Regions from separate parts of the Homo sapiens genome. Here regions 2, 3 and 4 are each linked to region 1. The links are contacts of gene promoters, found by promoter capture Hi-C in blood cells and fetal thymus (Javierre and others, 2016). All regions are on one chromosome and are shown on one strand. The core of a region is centred on a gene start or on the middle of the fragment in contact, and the rest is flanking DNA. Distances in the headings are between cores, read along the strand shown. Region 1 holds the start of LINC02219 (long intergenic non-protein coding RNA 2219). Region 2 has its middle 15 kb from the start of CD180. Region 3 has its middle 4.4 kb from the start of TILRLS. Region 4 has its middle 23 kb from the start of TILRLS.

Region 1 (3,468 bases), core at 414-2,913:
AGCTTTGAGGCTCTCTAAAGTATCCTGAAAGAAAACAAACAAACAAAAAAAGCCGAGTTACATAAAATATATCCGACCGAATTAAGGCATAACTGGCATCCTTAAAAACAAACAAACAAAAAAACCCAAAACTGCTTGGAAGGAAAAATGGGGAGGGGGAAATAAACGAAACGATGATGGCAGTGTGGTTAATTGGTTAAGCCAATGGAAGCTCAATACACTATTCTACTCTTGCAAATTTCAAAACAATGTTTCATTTTAAAAATTACACTTAAAAAAGTCCCTTTGCTCTCCCTTTTTCCCAGGCTACAATACATAAAACAGATTTCCTTTTAAATGTCGCACTCTATTTCATTTTTGAATTTTTCAGGGGTTTTGTGTGTGTGTGTGTTTTTCTGTTTTAAAAAGTACATCATAATTTGGTAAATTGAGAAGATGCAGAAAAGAAGTATAATGAAGAAAGTAATTATAAGTCCCATGATTTCAATTAGCACTTGCTTATATTCTTATGTATTACCTTTCAATCTTTACATACACACGTGCACACACAGAAAGAAAGAGAAAAAAATGAACATACCTAAATGGAATTCAATCCTACTTAGCTTTATACCATGCTTTTTTTTTTTTTCCTTCTGGTAACCATTCCCCATGCCATTAGATATTCTTAAAAGGGTGATTTGTACTGACTTTGGAATATTTCTAGGCTATGTTTCTTTATGCTAGAAAAAGTTCAGACAGTTTTATTTACACCATGCCATACTTAGAAACTAGAAGAGGATGCTTATAGTTAGAGATTACAAGGAAATGTATTTTGCACTAGATATATACCACTTTCTTCAGAATCATTTAAGAATTGCAGCTGGATTCAGCATAGTATTTGGCAAGTACAAATATAGTAATACAATGAAGTTTTCTCACCTTCAGATGTGCTCCAAAAAGAGAAATCAGAAGGAATGAAAATAGAGTGTGAGGGTGGGGTGTGGAAGTTAGGAGCAAAGCAAGAGAAAGGGAGACAATGCTCAGCCCACCCACCCACACCCACACATAAACACACATACACACATGCACACACACACAAACACACCAATTTCCGTAAGCCTCACATCAGCTGACGTGATTTCTGTTTCTTAATTAAGAACCTCAGAATCAGGCCGGATGTGATGGCTCACGCCCATAATCTCAGCACTTTGGGAGGCGGAGGCGGTGCAGAGGGGGTGGGGTGGGGATCACTTGAGGCCAGGGGTTTGAGACCAGCCTGGCCAAAATGGCCAAACCCCCTCTCCACTAAAAATACAAAAATTAACCAGGCATGATGGTGCGTGCCTGTAATCCCAGCTACTCAGGTGGCTGAGGCATGAGAATTGCCAGGAGGCGGAGGTTGCAGTGAGCCAGTGTACTCCAGCCTGGGTGACAGAGCGAGATTTTGTCTCATAAAAAAAAAAAAAAAAAAAAAAAGAACCTCAGAATCAAAACTCAAAAGAATCCAGTGGAAAATCACAAGGATTAAAGCGAAGAGACATATTGCATATTAGAAATGCACAGCTAACGATGTGACAGCAGAAGGGTCCAATGACAGGACACTCGGCATTGTTTGATCACCTGTTGCACACAGGGCTGTACAATGGACATGGAAACGTAGAGATGAATAAATAAGTCACAGGCCTTGGTCCCTTGGAGTTCACAGTCTAATGGGGAAGACAGGATATAAGCAAGTAGTTTCAGCATAGCTTTGGAATTGCATGCAGAGAAGTGAGTGAAGTGAGTGAGGGCCCAGCCAAGGTAAGACCAGGATTCACAAGAACATCCCAAGATCTCAGAGAGGAAGGGAACTTGGAGCGAAGTAGAGAAGAATAAGACCTTACAAACATAGGGGAAAAGGAGTCATAATGGGAGAAATTTTAACAGTTTGATTAATTTTTTTAAAAAAAGGCAAGTGTATTTTAAAATGTCTGTTTTTCCTAGGCTTGGGAACCAATGTTATTGGATACAAACTTGCCCTTGTTTTTGTAATAAGAGATATTCCTTAAAAAGTTTGGTATATGGCAAACTTTGATATTTTAAGCATATTTCAAAAAAAAAAGGACTCACCATGTAAAGAAACTGAACTATGAATTTGTTTGTTGTCTAGATAACACCTAATTTGACTTTTTTTTTTTCTTTTCTTTTTTTTTTTTTGAGACGGAATTTCGCTCTTGTTGCCCAGGCTGGAGTGCAATGGCACCAGCTCGGCTCACTGCAACCTCCTCCTCCTGGGTTCAAGTGATTCTCTTGCCTCAGCCTCCCGAGTAGCTGGGATTACAGGTGCCTGCCACCAGTCCCAGCTAATTTTTGTATTATTAGTAGAGATGGCACCATGTTGGCCAAACTGGTCTCAAACTGCTGACCTCAGGTGATCCACCTGCCTCAGCCTCCCAAACTGCTGGTATTACAGGCGTGAGCCATCATGCCTGGCCTATTTGTCTTTTTTTCATATGGACTTTACATACCACACGTAGTTAGTGCAGTCATGAAAATAGTATCTCCCCACTTGTTCCATTCATTAATGTCAAGCCCAAAAGGACCTTGAGTGAGTTTTATGTTTATTTGCTTGAGCCCATCCCCCAACCCTCCACCCACACACATTCACTTACCCTACTTATATGTGAATATTGCAATTAAGATGGCAAAAGGCAGGCAGCAGCGCGAGCACATGTGGCCATGATGAATGCAAATGTTAAAGATTAACCTTTTTTAAAAAAAGCAGGTTTACTTAATTTTGAAAAGTATCATATTTGCAAAGCTAATTTAGTATTTTTAATTCCCACACTGATTTTTCTTAACCAGTTTGCAGCCTTCCCAACCTACACAGTGACTTTGACTTCTTTTTCTTTCTTTCTTCCTTTCTTTCTTTCTTTCCTTCTTTCTTTTTTTTTTTTTTTTTTTTTTTTTTTTGTAGTTTAAGATCATTTTTTTGAACAACAAGAGACAGGGAGAGGGAGGGGGCAACTACATCCCCCAAGCCCTACCATGGGGAATGGACCTCTCCCTGCCTCCTGCCCCCTAAGCAGCTCCCCTTGTACTATGGGAGGGAGACTTTGTGCAAACTCAGCCCTGAGGGGGTCACAGTGACTCTTAAGGTTGGTCAGGGCTGTAATTACAACTTAGCAAACAGAGAAACCAAAATAAAGAGGCAATTTTAGCTGCTTTCTCAGGTAGGCCCTCAAATTGTCACCTGTTAGAGTGCATTTTCTGCAGTGACTAGAGCCTGCATCTTTAGACAAGCGCTCTGTCCATAGAGTCATGAAGCTACTATTCTTGGGAAATGGATCATGCTCCACCCTTTAATTGAACAGAGTACTTGAATTCTTATAGTATTGAAAATCTCTATGAATTTAACATGGGAGGAGCATGTGCCACACAATCTGGCTGGAGGGGTGGGAGGCAGGAGTCTATGCTTATCTTCCTGTATTTTTCCTCTGATCACCAGAC
Region 2 (3,468 bases), core at 490-2,989, 980 kb before region 1:
TGGCGTGAACCTGGGAGGCGGAGCTTGCAGTGAGCCGAGATCATACCACTGAACTCCAGCCTGGGCGACAGAGCAAGACTCTGTCTCCAAGAAAAAAAAAAAAGTCTGATGTTATTTGTCTTGGGTTTAGGCTGGGTGTGGGGATTTTTAAAAAATGTCCCCAGGGGATCCTAAACTACAGCCAGGATTGAGACCTGCTCTCTGAATCCTCTGTTTCTGCCTTCTCAGGCTTCAGCAGGTAGCCCCACTCTCACCTGCATTTCCAACCATTTCTGTTTTTGGGTCATTTTCCAAATCATATGGAATTGCCCTAAACTCTGCCATATGAAAATAAGAATTAAAAAAAGCTTTCCTGGATCCAATATTCATAGCAACTATCTGCTTTCTTTATGCACTTTCCAAGCCAAACTTCAAGAATAAGTCACCCACACAGGCTGTTTCTGCTTCCTCCTCATCGTTTTCATAAAATGTACTCCAGATTGGATTCTGTTCCAGGGATGATCACCCTGTCATTCAAAACGACTCACCTCCCTTGGCCTCCAAGACCCCATGTTCTCCTAGTTTCTTTCTCAGGCTACCTTTCCACCTGATCTCCCAATGTTGAGAGTTCCTCAGGACACGTGCTTGGCTGTCTTTCTTTCTTACTTCACTTCCCACAGCTTTTCAGTCCCTGGGACTTTGGAACTTCAAGCCTGTGCTCAGACCATTCTGTCAGTCTCATACCTGCATATCCAAATCCCTATTCGGCCTTCCTTTCCAGAGGCGTGTGCTAGACATCTCAGATTTCATGTTCCAAATGGAACTTTAAAAAGTTAATTAATTAATTAATTTATTTTTTGAGACGGAGTCTCGCTTTGTCGCCCAGGCTGGAGTGCAGTGGCGCGATCTCGGCTCACTGCAAGCTCCGCCTCCCGGGTTCACGCCATTCTTCTGCCTCAGCCTCCCGAGTAGCTGGGACTACAGGCACCCGCTACCACGCCTGGCTAATTTTTTTTGTACTTTTAGTAGAGACGGGGTTTCACCATGTTGGCCAGGATGGTCTCTATCCCTGACCTTGTGATCCACCCGCCTTGGCTTCCCAAAGTGCTGGGTTTACAGGCGTGAGCCACCACGTCCGGCCTAAAAAATTTATTTTAATTTATTATTATTTTTTTGAGACAGAGTCTCACTCTGTCACCCAGGCTGGAGTGTGGTGGCACGATCTTGGCTTACTGCAACCTCCACCTCCTGGGTTCAAGCGATTCTCCTGCCTTAGCCTCATGAGTAGCAGGGATTACAGGTGCACACCACCACACCCAGCTAATTTTTGTATTTTTAGGTAGAGATGAGGTTTTGCCATGTTGGCCAGGCAGGTCTTGAACTCCTCACCTCAGGTAATCCACCTGCCTCGGCCTCCCAAAGTGCTGGGATTACAGGCGTGAGCCACCATGCCTGTCCCCAGATGGAATCTTGATACACCACCCCCCCACACTTAGACTCGTCTTGTATAATAGTTCCTATTGTATTAATTTCCTATGGCTTCTGTAATAAATTACTAAAAATGAGCTGACTTAACCCAGCACACATTTATTTTCTCATAGTCCTGGAGGCCAGAAATCTAAAATCAATTCCTCTGGGTTGAAATCAAGGTGTTGGCAGGGCTGTACTCCCTCTGGAGCCTTAGGGGTGAATGTGTTCCTTGTCTCTTACTGCTCCTGTTAGCTGCTGGCATTCTTTGCTGTATTAGTCAGGATTCTCCCAAGAAACAGAACCAATAGGATCAAACTGTCTCTCTAGAGAAGACCAATGCTCCAGCTCATGCAGTCACGTAAGAGAAATTCCCTCTTACTTGGCCTTTTTCTTCAACTCCAATCTTCAATTGATTGAATGAGGCCAGCCCACTTTGGCGAGGATAATATACTTTACTCAGTCTGTTCATTTAAATGTTAATCTCAACCAGAAACACCTTCACAGTCACATTAAAAATAATGTTTGGTCAAATGTCTGGGCACTCCATGGCCCAGTCAAGTTGACACATAAAATTAATTGTCACACTTGGCTTGTGGTAGCATCACTCCAATCTTGGAGGCCAGCATCTTCAATTCTCTTTCTGCCCTGTCTTTACATAGCCTTCTCCTCTGTGTGTGTGTGTGTGTTTTAATCTCCTTCTGCCTCTTTTTTATAAGGATACAAGCGACTGCATTTAGGTTCCACCTAGATAATCCAAGATCATCTCCCCATCTCAAGATCCTCAATTACATCTACAAAGACTATTTTTTTTTCCAAATAAGAGAATATTTACAGGTCCCAGGGATTAAGACATGAATTTCCTCGGAGGACCATTATTCAGCCTATTACATCAATTCATACAACAGCAATTTTATCCGCCCAATGTCTTAAGCCAGAAATTTGGAACTCACATTTGTCATAAAATTCTCCTCAACACCATTTAATCCAGCCATAACTCCTGTATTTTCTTTTAAAAAGTCTTTTTTTTTTCAAGATCACTAGGTTCTTATAAATAAATCTTAATTCTCCTCAGTAATTTCCCTCTCCTCTGCCACCAACCTAACCCAAAACATAATATCTTTCCCATTCTTTTTTTTCTTTTCTTTTCTTTTTTTTTTTTTTTGAGACAGAGTCTTGCTCTGTCACCCAGGCTGGACTGCGGTGGCCCGATCTTGGCTCACTGCAACCTCCACCTTCTGGGTTCAAGCGATTCTCTGCCTCACCCTCCCGAGTAGCTGGGATTACAGGTGCCCGCCACCACACCCGGCTAATTATTGTATTTTTAGTAGAGACAGAGTTTCACCATCTTGGCCAGGCTGGTCTTGAACTCCTGACCTCGTGATCCACCTGCCTCGGCCTCCCAAAGTGCTGGGATTACAGGCTTGAGCCACTGCACCTGGCCCCCATTCTTATTTTAATCGTTCATTTATGTCCATTGTAATTTTCTCTTTATTTGTGATGATGTTAAGTGTCTGTCTCTAGTCACTAGATTATTGGCATTGTGAAGGCAGGACCATACATGTTTTGTTCATCATTATATTTTAGGTCTCAGCATAGTGCTTAGTACAGAGTAGATGCTCAATAAATATTTAACATATATATTATATATATTAATAGATGGATGGCACCTTTTCCACCATGAGGAAGCTTCCAGTCTGGTAAAGGGACCATTAAATATATATAATTTTTTTTTTTTTTGAGATGTAGTCTTGCTCTGTTGCCCAGGCTGGAGTGCAGAGGCGCTATCTCGGCTCACTGCAAGCTCTGCCTCCCGGGTTCACGCCACTCTCCTGCCTCAGCCTCCTGAGTAGCTGGGACTACAGGCGTCCACCACCATGCCCGGCTAATTTTGTGGTATATTTAGCAGAGACGGGGTTTCACCGTGTTAGCCAGGATGGTCTCGATCTCCTGACATCGTGATCTATCCGCCTCGGCCTCCCAAAGTGCTGGGATTACAGGCTTGAGCCACCGCACCCAGCC
Region 3 (3,468 bases), core at 425-2,924, 930 kb before region 1:
GCGTGCTGTCTCTGGAGTGGCAGAGGGGAAAGACAATCCACTTGTAAGTGGGCCCATGCAGTTCAAACCATGTTGTTCAAGGGTCAGCTATAGTTGTTTTTGTTCTCCTTTTTAATGTGGCTAATTAAAAAAATTTCTATTATCAACCTATTTGAAAGTGTGGGCTCTGGATTCAGGTGGACCTGTGTATATCTTGACACCAGGAGAGTTAACTAACATAACCTGAAGCTTTCAACTATAAAACGTATATGCAGTTGTACACAACATAATGACATTTTGATCAATGACAAAATGCTTATACATAGGTGTATCATATGCTTATACATAAGATTATAAAGGAGCTGAAAAATTTATATCACACAAATACTTACCATTGTGTTACTATTTCCTTACACTATTTAGTACAGTAACATGCTGTGCGGGTTTTCAGTCTAGGAGCAATAGGCTGTACCATATAGCCTAGGTGTGTAGTAGGCTATATACCATCTAGGTTTGCATAAGTATACTCCACGATGTTTGCACAACAACAAAATTGCGTAACAATGCATTTCTCAGAACATATCCCTGTCATGAAGTGACTCGTGACTATATTTCTTATTTCTCGCCTGTGTCAAAGAGTGTCACCATGCAGGTTGCCAACAGCCAGGGCAATGCAATGATCACTTTGGGAGGATGATAAAACTACCCTGAAATTACTGTTTCAGGGTATAATTCCTGAGAGTGCCACATCCTCTACAGTTTCAGTTGATCAGCTGGGAAACTAGTTGATTTTGGAGAAAAATAGGCTAGGAATAGCATCTGTAAACACTTTTAAGTAGTTTTAATGTTTTCCTACATGATGGATAAGCAAGATATAGCATATTAAAGCAACAGCGAGAGAATTTAAAAATTTGATTTGCTTCAAAGGGTTTGTGATACAAACACAGTGCATGTGATTCCTTCTGAAATATGCCCTGAAAGGGGCAGGAACCAGTCTGTGGGTTATTTATCCCCAAAGGTGTCTTTGTTCAGACCCATGGTCACGCCATTCATGTTTCAAGAAATAATATTTTCCAAAGTGGTGCCTCTTAAGCTTTTGTTTAGTTATACTTCTAGTTCTCTGGGGCTGAAGGTAAGAAGGGAGGATTAATTATGCCTCAGATGAATGTCCTTTTGCCATTAAACTCTTGGCTCCTTACTCTGCTTTTCTTCTCTTGCTCAATTTCTTCTTTCTTCACCTTATCTGTGAAACACATTAATCTCCTATTATCAGTTTTTCATGCAGTAATAGATAGACTTGACTGTTATTGAGGAATGCTTTATCCACACTTTTTTCATATTTTTCATGTGCATAAATGCATTCTCCCATCTGAAGGTTGCAGGGAGCAGGGTGATCATGAGTTATAGAACCTCTTTGTCTAGCCAAGGAATGCCACCAGAATTTTTAAAGGAGCTTCCCCTCTAGTCCTTTAAGCTAAGAAAGTGGGTGAGTCTGGGAATGGCCTGTAGATTTTTTTTTTTTTTTCCAACAGGCATTCATTTTAGTTGCAAGAGAAGAACTGGAGCCAGTGAAATATATACAGGCTGAGAAGTGGCTTATTTGAGTTAATATGGAAAAATAGAAAATAATGGGAACTAGGTCAAAAATGGCAAAAGGGATTATAGCTTAAATGGAGACAGGCTTCCAGACAATGAAGGGAAGAGGGTCTGGTAGTAATAGTGTCTATAAACCCATACCCACCAGCTTCACATCTGGTGGTAAGTAGGAGGCCAAAGGAATACTGTGATGAATCGACAGATGACAAAAATGGAAATGAGAAAGAGTTGTTAGGCTCTGCGGAGCTGGATGGACGTACAGAGGATGAGGAGGGCTTGAGTTAGGAGAATGCAGGGGAGCTTCTTTTCCAGTCTCTTCATGGGTGGCCAGGTGATTGACACACAGGAGATGAGAGGGAGGCAGAATGGTAGATGGAAGGAATGGTGAGAGGATGGGCATGGGATTTCCTGTTGCAATGACCTGCTGGGAGTTCAGGTGTCACCATCTGTGACTTCTTCAGATACTCCAGTTTTTCCCCCTGTAAGCCTTGTGGCTTTCCTGTCACTGTTAATTTGCAGCAGTCTCCTTGAAACCAGACGCCAGGAAGAAGTCAACTACTAAGTAGGGTCCTTCTTAGCTAGGACCCCTGTATCTTCCCTAATATCCTGTTACTCAGTCTTTTTCCCTCCAGCCTCCTGCCTCCCAGGGAGGCCATGCATGCTCAGACATGACAGCCTTTAGGACTTTAGCACTGATTCTCCAAGCTTTGCCAGTCTTTTCCATTATTGAACCAGGACACATACCAGCTGGGTTTAAGAGAGCAGCTGGATGCCTTTCAAGACTCATCTGAACTTCAGCTGCAGTGTATTTTTTGTGTGTTTGTCTACATTAGGGATGTCTGTTCATGCTGGGAAGCTGAGCAGGAATCCTTTCTTTTCTACTTGCTCTGCAGAACGCCATGTGAAGGAGTATCCAGTCAATACTCTAAGGTAGTTAGGATTCCTACAGAAACAAGGGAATGGACTGTACAAAAATAACCGAAGGATCAAATATAGACATGCTGAGCTCTGGAATATGAATTCAAATGTGGCTCTTTGGCATTTGAAACCAGTACGATGTCCCAGAAGGATGAGGAAAACCCAGTCTGTAGAGTGCTTTTGTCAAGTCAGTCCCCAGCAGGGTTGGGTTAATGCTCTGAGGCTTCCTAAGGTGTAAGAGAAATATCAAACAGCCAAGCTTAGCAAGGTCCATCCTAAGGGAGGGGCATGAGTTCTCATGGATCAACTGAAATGCTCATAGTTCCTTTACCAGTAATGACTTAGGCACTGGCCCCCAAATGTGAGGACAATTCTTACTGTGAGGACAATCAGATAGCTCACATGGACTGTGTCTCCTGATAAGCCTTCATGACAGTTTGATGCCTGGTTATATGACAATGGATGTTGTGATTCTGAGATTTCTTACATGTTTGTCTTTCAGAGTGCTTCCTAGTTACCAAGATATGCAGTCTCAGCCAACTCTTTAAAAACTAAAGTTAATTTATTCAATTGGAAATAAGCACCATCTAAGGCATTGAGAGATAAAGCCATGAAGAAAAACCCCATAGATTCTTGCTTTCAAGTCTCAGACATTCTTGTAGGTGGTGAGGGGAAATGCATAATTAATAAGTTATTGCCTAGATAGTATAATAAATGGTGATAAGCACTAAGAAAAATAAAGGCAAGAAGGGCTTAGAAAGTGTAGGGAGGGTTGACTTTGATTGTCTTAAAATATTCAGGTGTTTAGCAGTACACAGACACAATTTTTGATGTCTTGGTGATTATTTTCAAGTTATATTCAGTTTGGGTGAATAATATGAGATTTTCATAACACATAATTTTCAAAGCACTTTCATGTTTATTATTTCCACAAACTTTGCCTTCACCAGTCTCATGTAGATAACTATCTTGCTC
Region 4 (3,468 bases), core at 575-3,074, 900 kb before region 1:
GCATGTGTAGGACTTTCATTTCATTTTAGTCTGAACGATGTTCTCTCATATGTATATAACACATTTTGTTTATCCATTCACCCATCCGAGGACACTTAGGTTGCTTCCACTTTTTGACTATGGTGAAGAATGCTGCTATGAACATGAGTATAGAAGTATCTGAGACTCTGCTTTCACTTTGGGGAGTTATATACCCAGTGGAATTGCCAAAAATAGATTCTTGAAAAGGGAAGATCCTGAGGGAAGTAGGTGATAAAATTTTTACTCCATCAGTAAATTAGAGAAAGGGCAGAAGTATATGATCCAGGACTCTGAACCTAGTGAGATGGATGGAGGCAGTCACACAGCCAGGGTAGGGAAGGAGAGAGGGGCAGGCTTGATCCAAAAGGAGGTCAAGCTATTGGCAGGTTGAGATTTAGGCCTTAAAACATTCCTTGGAGAGGCTGTAGCCAGCTTAGAAGGAGCTCTTGAAAGCTGAGCCAGGGTCAGCACATCCAGGGGCCATTTGAGTGGGTACTACCAGGTGCTCATTCAGAAGACTGACACCAGATCTCTCTCCTTCACTGCTGAGTGAGGTCCTGTCATGGACAGCTCTGCCCATAGCCCAGTGATTACCCAGCAGCAGGATGTCTGCCGGTTTTCCCTAAGCGAGAAAAAGCTGTGACCTCGAAGTGTTCTGAGTTGAAAGCTGTCTTGGAGTGGAAGGGATGGACACATTTCCTGCAGCTTCCTGGATTCAACTGGCCACTGGGAGTCAAATCAGACTCTGGAGTTTAACACATGGTTTCTAAGGAGTCCCCAAAGGGTGACTCTGCTGTGTGCAGCATTCCCAACTGTGAAAAGCATGTGGGTTGGAAGGCGGATGAGATGGGGGTAAGCATGGAAGTCATAGCAAAAGCTTAGGATGGTCACCCTTGGTGGACTGGACTAGTCTGACCTGGTGCTAGAACCTGTCCTCCCTGGGGCAGGCCCAGCTGGTGCCCCAAGGACTTGCATTTTGTTCCATGCAGCCTCTTGCATTAGGCAATGACCATAGCACCCTGGATAATGACCAGTCTTGGAAAGATTAGCATTCTACATACTTAGTTTTTGAAAAAAATTATGTAACTGGTGTTCTACTTTTTCCTAGAATCTTTGCCTCTCTAAGGACAAGTCTTTGCTCTTGTAAAGGGAGAAAGGGATCCAAAAAATATTGGTATGCAGTAATTTTTGATTAGCATCCCTAGCCAAGTGATAAAGATATATTACATGCTCCGAAATTCTACAATAGCCCACCCAAATCCCTGATTCATTGCCTGAAGGGGCCCTTTGCAACACAATAGCTTACACTTCAGGCCCAGATTTCAAGAGGACCCATTAATCAGTGATGTGAGGTGGTGAGCGAGAGGGTTTGGCCCCATGACAACTTGGAAAGTTTGCCATGATTTGGAAAGAACAGCAGCCCACATTCTGAATAGAGAAAGGGAAAAGGGGACAGAATTCTCTGCTGAACAATAATGAGAATAAGATGGAACTGCTTCAAAAAGATGTCCATCCAGCAGTAGACGAGTACACCTGTGCATATGGCAAATGTTGGGGACCAGGCTTGGTCATGGTCACGTCTGGGAACAGACTGACAGGGATCAGTGGGATGCTCACTTTAAGAGTATCTAGGTAGCTGTCATAAGAATGTGTTTTATTCAGAATAAAAAAAAAAATCACTGTGTTTGTAAAAACAAGGATGTTCTTGTTTAGTTGTCTAGGTTTCTGACATTTTGACTTGTGGCTCCTAGAGACTTGAGTGGCAGCGGAGATATTAATTTTTATGCATGTTGGGCATGAGATATAAACAAAGTGGATATTTCCTTTATGATTCACAAAGTAGTGGAAAGGATTCTGCTTTAAGAATCGGGCAATGGAGCTAACTCTGCTGCCCTGCTGCAACTCTGTTTGAAACTATGATGTATTATTTTACCCATCAGGCCCTCTGCTTCCTCACATCATTATGGGGTGGGAGTGGATGGAAGGTAGCTGGGTTAGATGTCTTTTATTCATGACCCGGAGGGCTTCAGAGATCTTGCCAGCCCTCTGGAATAGTTTATAATATGTTATGTCTTTGTGGATATAAATATTTTTTCTCAAAAGAAGGCTTATTGCTTTTATCACATTTTCTAAAGTGGTCTGTGGCTCCCCAAATGTTCAGAACTCTTGTACTAGATCGCTAAACATCTCCTCTAACTCTTACAGTCCTTGAATGTGCTCTTGTACATCTGTGACTCTAAGGTTAATCCGGTTTATTATGAGAGGTGACCGTGATGGTATCTTCCCTAAATCTGTTTTGTTTCATTGTAATGTGAGAAAAGTTTCAGGAATGTGAACTTTCCTAGTTCATTCTCATTTTCTGGACTCAGCTGACCTTTCTTGGGAAAAATAATAGAAAAGTAGGAAATGGGCATCTTTAGCTCCTTTAATCTCTGCAACTCCTGGTTGTGTCTGCTCATCCCACCTCGCAGGGTCTCACACAGCCCCATTGTGAAACCCAAGCAGATTTCTGCTCTCAGCTCTTTTCTCATTGATCCCTTTCTGCCTTCACCCCACCCTCACTGCAGTTTTCCACCCAGATAGATGCTCCTTGACTTACAGTGGAACTGCATCCTGATAAGTTAGTAGTAGATGTTCCTTTACCAGACACAGAGGGGATCCCGGAGGTATTAAAAGGTTGATCCACTGAAGGTTGAAAATGCATTTAATACACCTGACCCATCAAACATCAAAGCTTAGCCTAGTCCACTTTAAATGCACTCAGAACACAAATTTATGATTGGACAATAATCATCGAGCAACCCAGTACACTGCAGAGTATCGGTGTTTACTCTTGTGACTGGGAGCTGTGGCTCGCTGCCACTGCCCAGCATCATGAGAGAGCATTGTACTGCATGTAGCTAGCCAGAAAAAAGAGGAAAATTCAACACTCAACGATTTCTATGAACGCGTATTTCTTTTGCGTTGACATAAAGTCAAAAAATTGTTAAGTTGAAGCATTGTAAATCAGGGGCCATCTTAATGCCCATTCTACATCTATTCTTTAAACAACTGACTTTAATTGAAAAGCTACATGGGGAATGATCTTTGAGCAGGCGAATCTTTTAATACCTCCAGGATCCCCTCTGCGTCTGGTAAAGGAACATCTACTACTGACTTATTGACCTCTGCACGTGCAAAAGGAGGTGGAGATGGAGGGATGTGTTGTTTCTGAAGGGGAGAGTTCCTGGTGCAGATTTCTTACTGGCTAAACTTGCTGGAAACACCCACAGAAGTGGCACATCAGACCATTCTGCCCACAAGCATTTTAAAATAAAAATGAAATCAAATGGTCCTCTGTTCGACATACACAAAATTCACTGTTTCAAAAGCACTTTCAAGATGATTTTTGTTCCTTTAGATTTCTCATTCCAAGGATTTTGCCCCACCCAGCAGGGGAATTACTGA

Evidence for each region. Contacts are between HindIII fragments. The CHiCAGO score rates a contact against its expected background, and 5 or more counts as called.
Region 2: a contact is called between a fragment that was not itself captured here and the fragment with the promoter of LINC02219 in region 1, in 1 of 17 cell types (monocytes). The highest score is 7.1, in monocytes.
Region 3: a fragment that was not itself captured here is called in contact with the fragment with the promoter of LINC02219 in region 1 in 2 of 17 cell types (megakaryocytes and naive CD4 T cells); the score reaches 6.6 in megakaryocytes.
Region 4: a contact is called between a fragment that was not itself captured here and the fragment with the promoter of LINC02219 in region 1, in 1 of 17 cell types (erythroblasts). The highest score is 5.8, in erythroblasts.

What each region holds. Positions count from the first base shown.
Region 1 is chr5:68,188,213-68,191,680 of GRCh38, forward strand. It overlaps LINC02219 (long intergenic non-protein coding RNA 2219), which reads left to right and starts at 1,664. Exons shown (of 3, transcript NR_105003.1): 1 at 1,664-1,779. RefSeq lists an enhancer at 1-74. The HindIII fragment of the contact is 11,987 bases long and covers 1-3,468 here.
Region 2 is chr5:67,210,408-67,213,875 of GRCh38, forward strand. No RefSeq gene overlaps it. Among named protein-coding and RNA genes, the nearest start is that of CD180, 15 kb to the left of the region's middle. The HindIII fragment of the contact is 2,788 bases long and covers 346-3,133 here.
Region 3 is chr5:67,261,859-67,265,326 of GRCh38, forward strand. No RefSeq gene overlaps it. Among named protein-coding and RNA genes, the nearest start is that of TILRLS, 4.4 kb to the right of the region's middle. The HindIII fragment of the contact is 1,208 bases long and covers 1,071-2,278 here.
Region 4 is chr5:67,288,970-67,292,437 of GRCh38, forward strand. No RefSeq gene overlaps it. Among named protein-coding and RNA genes, the nearest start is that of TILRLS, 23 kb to the left of the region's middle. The HindIII fragment of the contact is 1,857 bases long and covers 897-2,753 here.